2 separate regions of the Homo sapiens genome follow, and region 2 is linked to region 1. Evidence: promoter capture Hi-C in 16 types of primary human blood cells and fetal thymus (Javierre and others, 2016). All regions are on one chromosome and are shown on one strand. Each heading gives the region's core, a stretch centred on a gene start or on the middle of the fragment in contact. The rest is flanking DNA. Distances are from core to core; before and after follow the strand shown. Region 1 holds the start of TMEM14B (transmembrane protein 14B). Region 2 holds the start of SLC35B3 (solute carrier family 35 member B3).

Region 1 (5,452 bases), core at 1,019-3,518:
CTGGCCTAATGAGGAAACTTCAAAATACCAGTCTGTGTAGGCCAGAGGTTGACTCCTACTTAAGCCCAGAGATGGCACTTGGGGGTCATGGCTGATGAATGGCAGTCAATGATAATAACAAACTACAACCACCCCTGCCTACCTTTAGATAAAGAGGCAAAAATAAGTAATTCCACAAGAGGCCTGGCTCAGCTTCACCAGATAAGCAAAAGGCAAGGGCAGGAGCTGCAAGACTGACAAGGAAGCCTGCACTCCAGCTTGGGGACCTACAGCAAAGCTGAGTCAAACGAGATTGCTTCTCAGGGACACAGGCACTCACATTTCACTGGAACAACGTGAAGATGTTAAGAGGCTAAGTAACAACAAAACCCTACCTGTTTTTACATAGCCAACGATCCCACCAGAAACAACCAGTGCTGTGTAGCCAAAGCCAAACCAATGCAAAGGCACTCTGAAAACACAAGAGAAGTCAGTGAGAAGTCAGTGCTAACCTGGATTTAAAAACAAACCATATTGTCATAGGATGGGGCTAAAAGGTAATCATTCCCCACAGGTCCTATGTGCCCACAGGTACTATCACTGAAAATAAGCACCACAGAGGTTGGATGACTTTCTGAGAGTCACACAACTAAGCAAAGCTAGAGCTGGGACTCAAACCCAAGTTTCTGGCCCACAGGTCCAGTGATCCTCCCATCCCGCACGCCATCCCAGGCAGTCTACTCTTAGGGTTCTTTTCAGCTGAGGAAAGGAACTCTGGTTTCCAGAAGCTCCTGGCTACTCTCTAACCATTTACTGTCTACTCACAATGGGAAGAGGGGCTTCTCCATTCTTCTCTTCTCAGTCCAGAAAGGAGACTACCCCAGGCCTGCATCTGGGGAAAACAAGCCGGATCAGCAGTGGTTAAAAGCACAGCTCCCCAGCAGTCAGAAAGAAGTGTGTCCAACCTGCAGGCTATGCAACCTAAGTCTCAGTATCCTTCACTGTACCATGAGGATAACACTGGTACCAATTTCCTGGGGGTGTTGTGAGCATTCAATGGATGTCACATGTAAAGGTGCTTAGCACCTAGTAAACCCTGAACAGATGCCGATCATTTCACATAGGTCCACAGGAAACTCAGCAAGATCCACTGACCAGCTCTATAATCAGGGAATGTGTTAGTCATTTCATTAAGCACTCACATTATCACTAAATCGGAAAGCAAATACTCCCGTGCCCTTAATCCAACTACTTTAATGTCTCTTTTGAGGGGTGGTAGGGATGTTGCTTTTCTTCACTGATGCAACAGCCAATTTCAATACTCAATTTTTTTTTTTAGAAACTTCTGCATCCAACTCACAGTTCTCGTTAGGAGGGCAGAAGGGGAGGGTAAAATACACGGAAACTCAAGTCAGAATCACATGTGACATTGCACCCTTGGAAAAACAGCTCCTATTTTCTTACAGAAAAGTATTCTGTATGCAGTGAACCTAACAAGATGGAAAGCAATGCATACGCCGTTTATTCTGTTTAAAGAATTAGGCCAGGCAAAGTGGCTCACGCCTGTAATCCCAGTACTTTGGGAGGCCCAGGCAGGCGGATTACCTGAGGTTAGGAGTTCGAGAACAGCTTGGTCAACATGGTGAAACCCATATTCTATTAAAACACACACACACACACACAAATCGGGCATGATGGCATGCACCTGTAATCCCAGCTACTTGGGAGGCTGAGGTGGGAGGATGGCTTGAGCCCAGGAGGCAGAGGCTGCAATAAGACATATTCAGGCTACTGCACTCCAGGCTGGGCGACACAGCGAGAACCCCTCCCCACCCCCCAAAAAAAGAAAGAATTAATTTCCCATAAAACGGGGAAGGGCAGCGGGCTTGGGATCTTGCCCACAGTTCTTAACTCGAGGCGGCACTGAGTAAGGGAGGCTTTTAAAGAGCTGGAGCAACAAAACCACCAGGAAACGAGGCAACACTATGCTACAAGGGTAAGCCTTTGCCTCAGGAGCTCAGGTGCTCCGAGCATCCACAGCCTCTTTTAAGACAAGCAGAAAATACCCAAGGAGAAAAGCACCGACCACACGGCATAAAGGCCCGCTGAATCGGGGGGACGAAAAGCAGACGGCCGTGAAACTCCTAAATAATCCCTAAAAGTTAAAAGTGGCAGAAAATAAAAACAATACTCTCCAAAGACCTGCACCGACCTGCCGAAGGCCCGCGGAGTCCACTACGGAGCGCAAGCCGCGGGACACAGCAGCCAGGTCTCTCCGGAAACGCGATTGCGTGCGCGCTGCGCCCCGGGGCCGCGGCAGGGCGGGGAGAAAGGCGGGACGTCGTGGCGCGTGCGCAGTGTCCTTGGAGAGAGGTGAGCGGAGAATGGGGACAGTGGGGGCGGGGCTTGAGCCGCGGATTACCAGCACGCGCCCTGCATCCCGGGGGCGGGGAGTGAGGCGGGGCATCGCGGCTAGCGCCGTTGGCGGGGAACCGGGCGGGGAATCTCTGTGCTTCCTCAGTCCCCAGGCCCAGCACCTGCAGGGCCGACCAGCTCCAGTCCCAGGTCCAATCCTGAGTGGCCAAAAGCCGGAAACCCGGAGTTGGAATTGGATCTTGCACAAGCTGGACCACGTAAGCTGGGCCAGGCCAGAGGTGGAGGCCACCGCTGCGGGAGGAGGGCATCTGATGATTTTGAAGGACCCCATTAATAGAGGGTATAAACCAGGTGCGGGCCATCAGGGAGGATTGTCACTCTGGCCCGATCTTGTTTGTTTACACCAGGAAGGGCCTGCCTTCCACCTGCAAGAAAATATGGCAGCTGCAGAATAATGTGGCGCAATGCCAAATATCCGTTTGTTTTAGGGAGTGAGGCTACTTGAGAAGCATCTTAAATGGGGAGAGAGAGCAAGTTAAATCTGATTTCCACGCAGCTCTGTGGATTCCGAATGTCCACAGTATGATGTTATCTCCATTCCCACTTCCGAGCCGCTCCTCTTCTGTGTTTCCTGCACCACCATTCGCTCAGTTGCTCTACACTAAAATTTGCTGTCATCGTTGACTTCTCCCTCTCCTTCATCCCCTACAAGTATCAACATAGACAACTCCGATCAATATAATCATCAGTGAATAAAGCAAATTGCAGCGCATATTCTTAAAGACAAACTTTCCACTTGCAGCAGCACCTACCTTCCAGATAGCTAAATTGAAGCCCGTGTTTATCATAGCTGCTTCTAACCAGCCAGAGCTGATAATAACTAAGAACTTGCAGGAATTGCAGTATGCCAGACCTTCAATTTAATTGAAGACTTTCCTGAACAATTAATGAGACTTGTCTTAACCAGCAGGGAATGGCTTTAGGGACTCATTCTTCCCTATGCAGGTGCAAGCCTCAAACCTTAATTAGGATCATCCACCATGATCCTCGAGCCCTTCCCCACCTTATACTTGAAGAGGCTGAACCTCAGAGAATTAAATTACCTACAGTCCTGGTCACTGGTAGAGCTATTATTTAAAGTAAGGTCTAATGTCAAAGCCTGCGTCCTTAATTCTACCATATGCTGCTTCTTGCAGTGTCGTTCCTCAACCAGAACACATAGCTCTTCTGTGTAGGTAAAGTCCATCAAAACATGTCATAAAATAAATTAAAGAAATTGGTTTCTGCTCTATTTCAATTAGTACCAGAGTAAAACAATCAATGATTTGTGTTTGGGAATATTTCTAGTTGGCATTAACGTTGTTAGGAGATAGCTTAGCTCTTCACTGGGGGCCCACTGAATTATCGGAACCCTGGAACACAAATGTGTCAAAAGGGTGTAATCAAAATTATGTCAGGGAATGTTAAGTTTCTAGTCTTTGGTCACTGAGGCCTATCAGTAGGTTTGGGTGTTTTGTTTTGTTTTTCCCACAAAGAGGCTTTGAGTAAGAATTGTGTCTGGTAGACAAACACAGGTACACACACAGGTGTGTACTCACACAGCAAGAGCAGTAGAGATCATCTCCCACAACACAAGAGCTCATGAAGAAAGGGAATTGAGCTTCAATGTAAGCATTAGTTTAGCATTTTTGGAGCCTGAATGTGTTGACTTTACAAATTAAGAAGTCCCTGAACAAAAACGTCAAAAACAAATCCCAAGTTGCAGTCTGCCCAGGTAATTCATGTCTATCAAGTGTCTACAATACCAATTTCTACATCTTTGGGAGTATTTTATAGGTTTGTTTGAAGAGCAAGGTCAATAACTCTTTCCCCAAGAAATAAATGAAATCATAAAAAAAAAACCGCCTATTTTCTTAACCTAACCTATCTGCCATCTACTTCTGGATCATATTCATTGGAGCCATAAAAATATTAGCAGAAGCATATGCAGTTCTTATTATCTGCCACTGTTGGAAGCGCTTTACATATGTTAACTAACTTACACTTCATACCAACTCTGTGCAGTGACGACTATGATTATCTCCTGCTTTACACATGGAAGAAATTGAGGCACAGACTACAAGGTCACACAGCAAATGGCAGAGCTGTCCTAACTCTGCATTTGTTTCTTGCAGTGAAGAGTCTTTTTTCTGTCTCTTAGTCTGTTCTCAACACAGTGACCAGAGCACTTGGGTTAGAAGTCTGACTGTGCCATTTCTCTCCCCAAAACCCTCTGGTGGCACCCCTTTTCTCAGGCAGTGCTTTGCAAAGCCCCACACATCCTCCTCCCTGACATCAGCATCTTCTCTTTCCCCCTCACTTGTGTTTCCTTCTTGCCCTCAGCTGCTTCATCTGCCTGGAACGCCTCCCCAGACAATCTCCTGGTTCACGCCCTCTCCTCCTTTCTGTCTTTACGCAAATGTCACTTCTCAGAGAGACCTTCCCTAATCACCTGATTTAAAACTTCAACTCATCTGCATTTCCCCCGACAGCATCTTTCCTTCCATGACAATTCCCTGCTAACCTGCTCTGTAACTGGCTTAATCATCGTAGAGCCTACCTCCCCCTTTTTTGCATGTTTGTTTCATGGGAGTGATGATATTTATGCAGCATTTAGCACAGTGCCTGGCCCATAACCAGTACTCAGTAAACATGTGTTGAATGGACAAGTAGATGTGGAGTGAGAAATGAGAGGGGTGGTCGGCAGACAGGAGAACAAAGGCCACATGTACAGTTTGCCCTGGCTGTACCCTGGCTCTGGTTCTTCCTGCCTTGGCCTCAGCCAGATACACCTGTGTCCTTCTCATGTACTTACCCCCACGTCCTCTGTTGAAGCTTAGGACATCCAGAGTTGCATTTGTTTCTTGCAGTGAAGAGTCTTTTAAAATCTGAAATAGGCTGTGAGCGGTGGCTCACGCCTGTAATCCCATCACTTTGGGAGGCTGAGGCACATGGATCACCTGAGGTCAGGAGTTCGAGACTAGCCTGGCCAACATGGTGAAACGCTGTCTCTACTAACAATACAAAAAAAAAAAAATAGCCGGGTGTGATGGTGCAC
Region 2 (5,452 bases), core at 1,471-3,970, 2.3 Mb after region 1:
ATGTGATCCTAGTGAGAAACAATGAGAGAATGGAAGGGAGAATATAGACATAATACAAGAATGTGTTATTGAAGTTGCTGTTGTGAGAAACCAGAACCCAATTTCACTGGGACTTTTTGAAAAACACACAGAATGGCCTACAAAACTATCTTGCTCAAGTGTAAGAAGCAAGAGCATTTATCCATCAGTGACTGTCACCCCTTGGTTGAAGGGCCCCAGATGTGTTGACTTACCAGCACTTCAAAGCTGTGCAGGACAGGAGCTGAGAGAGCTACTGCTGGAATGTGTGAAGTCCGAAGAACCTCAGGGAAGAAAGCAAAGAGGCCTGGTAAATGTGGGAGAGGAGAAGCTGTCAGGGAGAAGAATGTGTAAGATTGCATGAAACTGCCCCCCACAACCAAGTCAGAAATGAGAGGTGATGCTCAGAAGATGTGAATCAAGACACCAAAGGTTTCTGATACTACAGAATTATTAATTTCTTAAAAATTTAAAACCAATTCATAGGACCAGGCGCAGTGGCTCACGCTTATAATCCTAGCACTTTGGGAGGCTGAGGTGGGTGGATCACTTGGGGTCAGGAGTTCGAGACCAGCCTGGTCAATAAGGTGAAACCCCATCTCTACTAAAAATACAAAAATTAGCCGGGCATGGTGACAGGCGCCTATAATCCCAGCTACTCGGGAGGCTGAGACAGGAGAATGGCTTGAACCCAGGAGGCAGAGGTTGCAGTGAGCTGAGATGTGCCACTGCACTCCAGCCTGAGCGACAGAGTGAGCCTCTGCCTCAATCAGTCAATCAGTCAATAAAAAACAATTCATAGCTGCAAGTCTTTAATTTTGTTTACCACGTGGTTATCACAGGAGTAAATGGGAAGTATTGTAAGAGAGTCGATATTTATTAAACACCTACTCTATAATAAGTACTACTCCAGATAGTCTCTCCTACATTTCACATTTGACATGTAAAAATATTTCACTGACATGGTAGTCAGAGAAGAGCCAGGTGACATTTGAGCAGTGACTGGAAAAAAATGAGGAAGCAAGCTCTGTGGACATCTGAGAGGGCAGTGTTCCATGCAGAAGGAACAACAGCTACAAAGCACTGATGCTTGCTGTGCTTGGGGGCAATTAGAAAAGCTCTGAAGTGTAGCTTGGATGTGATCCATCAAGAATAAGTTCAGTCTTAAAAGTCAGGGTAAGAATTTTGAACTTTAATCTGAGTAAAATGGTAAACCGCTAAAAGGTTCTGCACAGAGGAGTGGCATATTCAGGTTCTAATGGGATCACTCCAGCTGCTGAATGCAACTATGTAGAGAAATAAAGGGAATGCAGAAAGCTATGCTCACGGCTACTGCAATTGTCCAGGCATGAGCAGATGGTACCTTGTAACACCTCTTGTACCTTAAGTTGTTTTATACTGCCATTTACTTTCTCATGGAAACCCCTAATTTCTTCAGGACAGGGAGCTCATACGCATAGTTTACGATATGAGCTATACATATGCCCATTTAATAAATACTTGATAAATAACCACCATATAAATGGCTAACAGTAGTACTAAATTCACATTATACAGTGACGATATGGCATCACTGAAAGGTTTTGTCATTTACTATCTCTTTAGGAAATTTAAGTTCTCTAAGCCTTAATTCCAACATTCCTAAGTGTTGCTAACACCAGCCTAACAACGTTGGCAAGTATTAAACGAAAATGTCTACCCAGACCTTTTTTTCTCACCACCAAAGTAGGTGCCTTGCTTTCTTACAAACCCTCGATCCCAATACAAGACACAAATGCTACCCTTTCTGAAGAGTGCCTGTAAAATTTTAAAAGTTGTCCATAACTGACTGGATTCTAACATACATATTAATCCAATTCATCCCTTTCTGGTATTCAAGGCATGCTTTCAAAAATTGTCCATCTTCGTTACAGTAATATTTTCCTTAATTATTCTCTGAAAACAGCTCATCCCCAAACCGTCTTGGTTTTTACGTTATTACATCTCAGTGGTGATGGATGAGGCCCTAAACGCGGGGAAAACCTTTTACAAAAGTTTTGATGGCTGGTCCTCAAGCTTTGAGATTTACCTTCCAAGAATTAAGCAGCACTATCGAAACAATGCTGGCAACATTTTTATGAGGTTGCAAGGACCACGGTTGCTGCAGCTACAGGATGAGTTATAACGTCAGAAGCAACCCAAGCGTTACTTCAGGCCCATCTTCACCGGAGAAGCCCGTATGAATCAGGCAAAAACATAAAAACAGGTTCTGTGACTTTGCCGTATCTCATTTAGATCAAGTAGCACGCAGAAGGAAGACAAGGATTTTAAAATCTGGCTCCAACATTCTCCACTTGGTCGCGTTCTCAAATCTCAGCCCAGGGCCGCTGACGTAAAGTCGCCTCTCTCGTGGGCACCACGGGCTCGAGGGTAGCCGGCAGCTGAAACCCGAGGGGCTTCAGAGGCTTGGAGGCCAGGAGCAGGCAGAGCGCCGATGGGATAATGAGATTCTCCAGCAGATCGGCGCTCACCGACCTACTCCATTTCAGTGGGTAGAGGTAAAGGCTGAAAGGCGACCCTCGCACCGCCCGGCCCACCTAGGCAGTGCCGGCCTAGCGTCTCTACCCCATAGAGCATGCGCGGGAGGTAACGGCCCGCCCGCCACCGGCCACACAGGCCTGTCGGGAGGCGGGGCCACGCGTCTGCGCACGCGCGCAGGGACACATAGGCGGAAGTGGCCTGCGGGCGCCGGAGTTGAGAGTGCTTTCCGGGGAGGCGACCGCCGCGGTGGAAAGTGCAGGAGTGGGCGAGGAGGAGGAGGAAGAGGAGGTGATGGCGACGGACCAGGGGAGGGGGAGATGCTCCGTCTAGCTCAGACGCCACGCAGGCTGCCGTCACCCTTCCGGGTGACATACCGGCCTTGGGGTACGCGTGCCTTCGGGGCCTTTCCTGTGTTTGGGACCCAGATCTCCTCTCCTCCAGAAAACCTTGACACTGCCCATCTTCCTCATCCAGAAGGAGCGTTCGAGGAATGGATGAGGTCGGGATGGAAGAAACGGGTGATTCCCTTTTTTGAAAGAGCGGAAACCGGCCGGGCGGTTTCCAGGGAGGAGCATCTGTTCCTCCTCGCCCGTTTTTCGCCCTCGGGCTGGCGAGAACTCCCTCAGGTCCCAATCCGTGGACTCGCAGGGGTGAGGTGACCTCAAGGGGTCTTTTACGCTGTTCTCGGGGTCTCTGGAGAACTGTCAGTCACCTGGATACCTCTAGACTGTATTTACAGTTAACTGTTTCCTCGTTCCGTGTTTATTAAATAGGGGCACTCCAAGGTACTCTTTTCTCCATTTGGCTTGCAGTAGAATGTGATTGTTCTGGCTGGGCTATTAAGTTTATGGCATAAACTTCCACTAGAAGTTCTGCAAGTTTCCTCCAGTCTTTGCAACTGAATTATCTCTCCCGTCTTTTTATTATTTAAGGAATATTGAAAGTAAAAGATGGAATGATTTGGTGCGCTAACAAAATCTTAAGTGTTGAGTATCTGCATTTTTTCTACATTAGGATATCAGAAGCCTAGAATTGTTTTTTGATTAAACGTTTTTCTAAGTGAATTGAGATAGTTTGGAACTTGGAAGAGAGGCAGCATTTCAAAATAATTTAGACAGCGTTATTTTTACTTAATTACTTAATATATAAAGTCCTAGTGTTAACTTTTTCTCTTGGAAAAAAAAAAGAATAGTCTTCAAACATTAGCACAGGGTTTCTCCACCTTTGTGTAATGATGTGTGTACAAAGAAATGAGATGGAACTTTGTTTTTTCTGTTTTATAATCGTACACCATAGGCCATGATTGATTCCGGAGCGCAGTTAATCAAGGCATAATGGCATGGTAAGATTCTTTTATTTGTAACGTTGAGTGTGGCAAAGTATAGTTAAAATCACGTTTTTTCAGGTTAATGACACCGTAATGACTTTTTTTTCATATTCTACCTTTTTTTGGTGTGGGACTTTTGTCCTTCAGGTCGGAAAACTCAAAAATAAACTGAAATAATTGTGACTTCAATAGGTCATTGTAACTCAACATTATCACTAATTTTAATTTTTAAATATACATTGTATGCCGGAAATGCTACCTTTTTATTCCATTTTAGCAGTTGAAGTTGAATATCTGTGTTGAATTTAGGAAGAGGCCTCAGGCAATTATACACACCTGTGATTTTTAAAATATATATATATATATTTTAGTTTCACTGATTACTGTGAGCTTCAAAAGCAAAGCACAATGTTGATCATTTAGTCTGAAAACTAATTTTAATTCCATGCTTCATTTTTGCTCCTTGCATCACAAGGAGTTTGGCCCATTTTTTTTTTTAGATGATGGTTAGTATCAGTCATTAATGTTTGAAGTGGAAGGGATATGGCAGACATTCCCCAATGATCACAGTTATTAGGTATCAGAGGTCTTTATCAGTCACACTTTCTCACCAGTGATGTTCTTATTAATAAAACAGCATTCTAAATGCAAGGCTTTGGTGGGCAAGTTTTATGAGACTGATGCCTCAGGCAGAGGAAACAAATTTATTTTCATGTTCATTTCAAATGTTTTGTGGGGAGTTTCAGTAGCAATGTCGGTATTTTGGCATACATGTAGAAAAGACAGTGCTAGAGAGATTTCATTCTGCACATATGGCCTAGATCTGCAGCACATAAAGTTGCCAAGAAGTGTATTAGAAGTGGTAAAGTGTTGGAAAGGAGCTGAATAACGTTGATTAAATAAATGGTGCTTGCTAAACTGTGGTAGAGTCCTTCATTTAATCTTACATTTTTGTTATGTGCCAGAACATCATAGGAAGATATCTCTTGCCTTAAGGATTTCATAGGCTTTTAGGAGAAACAAGTATAAAAACGAAAAAGCTATACCATTATCATTTAGGAATTTGAAAAATATGTATAATATGATTGAGTCCAGGACATCAACTCGTTTTTAACTTCGAGGCCTTATTCATGGATGCAGCATGATCAGACTTCACGTTGAGCCATGTGACAGATGGGTCAGAAAGGGAAGAATTGATTATAAACAGTCTCGTAATCTAGGCAAGAGAAAATGGCTGCCTGATGGAGTAGGGTCCGAAACAGATATTAGATATAGTTATAGAGGTAGAGTTAACAGGAATCTTGGCAAAATATAGAATGTGAGGAAAAGGAAAGATTCTTAAGATGACTCCCAGATTTTTAGCTTGTGTTTCATACTAGGTACTGTTAAGTGAGATTGGGAATATAGGAACAAACAGTAGATTTGTTTTGAGGGGAAAATAATCAGCTTTGGCCATTTTAAATATGAAGTGCCAGCAGAGCTTATGAGTAGAGGTATCAAAGAAGCATTTAGACGTAGAGCTCTGGATCTCAGGAGAGAAGGCAGCGTTGGAAATTCAGGTCTGTATTTCCAGCTGCACATCAAAGG

The links. The method cuts DNA at HindIII sites, captures the fragments that hold promoters and counts their contacts. A CHiCAGO score of 5 or more calls a contact.
Region 2: the fragment with the promoter of SLC35B3 here is called in contact with the fragment with the promoter of TMEM14B in region 1 in 1 of 17 cell types (non-activated CD4 T cells); the score reaches 5.2 in non-activated CD4 T cells.

Annotation. Positions count from the first base shown.
Region 1 is chr6:10,744,621-10,750,072 of GRCh38, reverse strand. It overlaps TMEM14B (transmembrane protein 14B), which reads right to left and starts at 2,268. Exons shown (of 6, transcript NM_030969.5): 1 at 2,192-2,268; 2 at 805-871; 3 at 375-451. The coding sequence starts at 827. It overlaps TMEM14B-DT (TMEM14B divergent transcript), which reads left to right and starts at 2,489. Exons shown (of 2, transcript NR_187231.1): 1 at 2,489-2,612. RefSeq lists silencers at 2,239-2,298, 2,254-2,474, 2,309-2,538 and an enhancer at 2,659-2,708. The HindIII fragment of the contact is 12,296 bases long and covers 1-5,231 here.
Region 2 is chr6:8,432,813-8,438,264 of GRCh38, reverse strand. It overlaps SLC35B3 (solute carrier family 35 member B3), which reads left to right and starts at 2,720. Exons shown (of 10, transcript NM_001370479.2): 1 at 2,720-2,922. It overlaps LOC100506207 (a long non-coding RNA gene), which reads right to left and starts at 2,642. Exons shown (of 5, transcript NR_038980.1): 1 at 2,087-2,642; 2 at 234-325. RefSeq lists enhancers at 2,323-2,412, 2,493-2,572, 2,513-2,682, 2,883-2,942, 2,439-2,980 and 1 more. The HindIII fragment of the contact is 10,856 bases long and covers 2,076-5,452 here.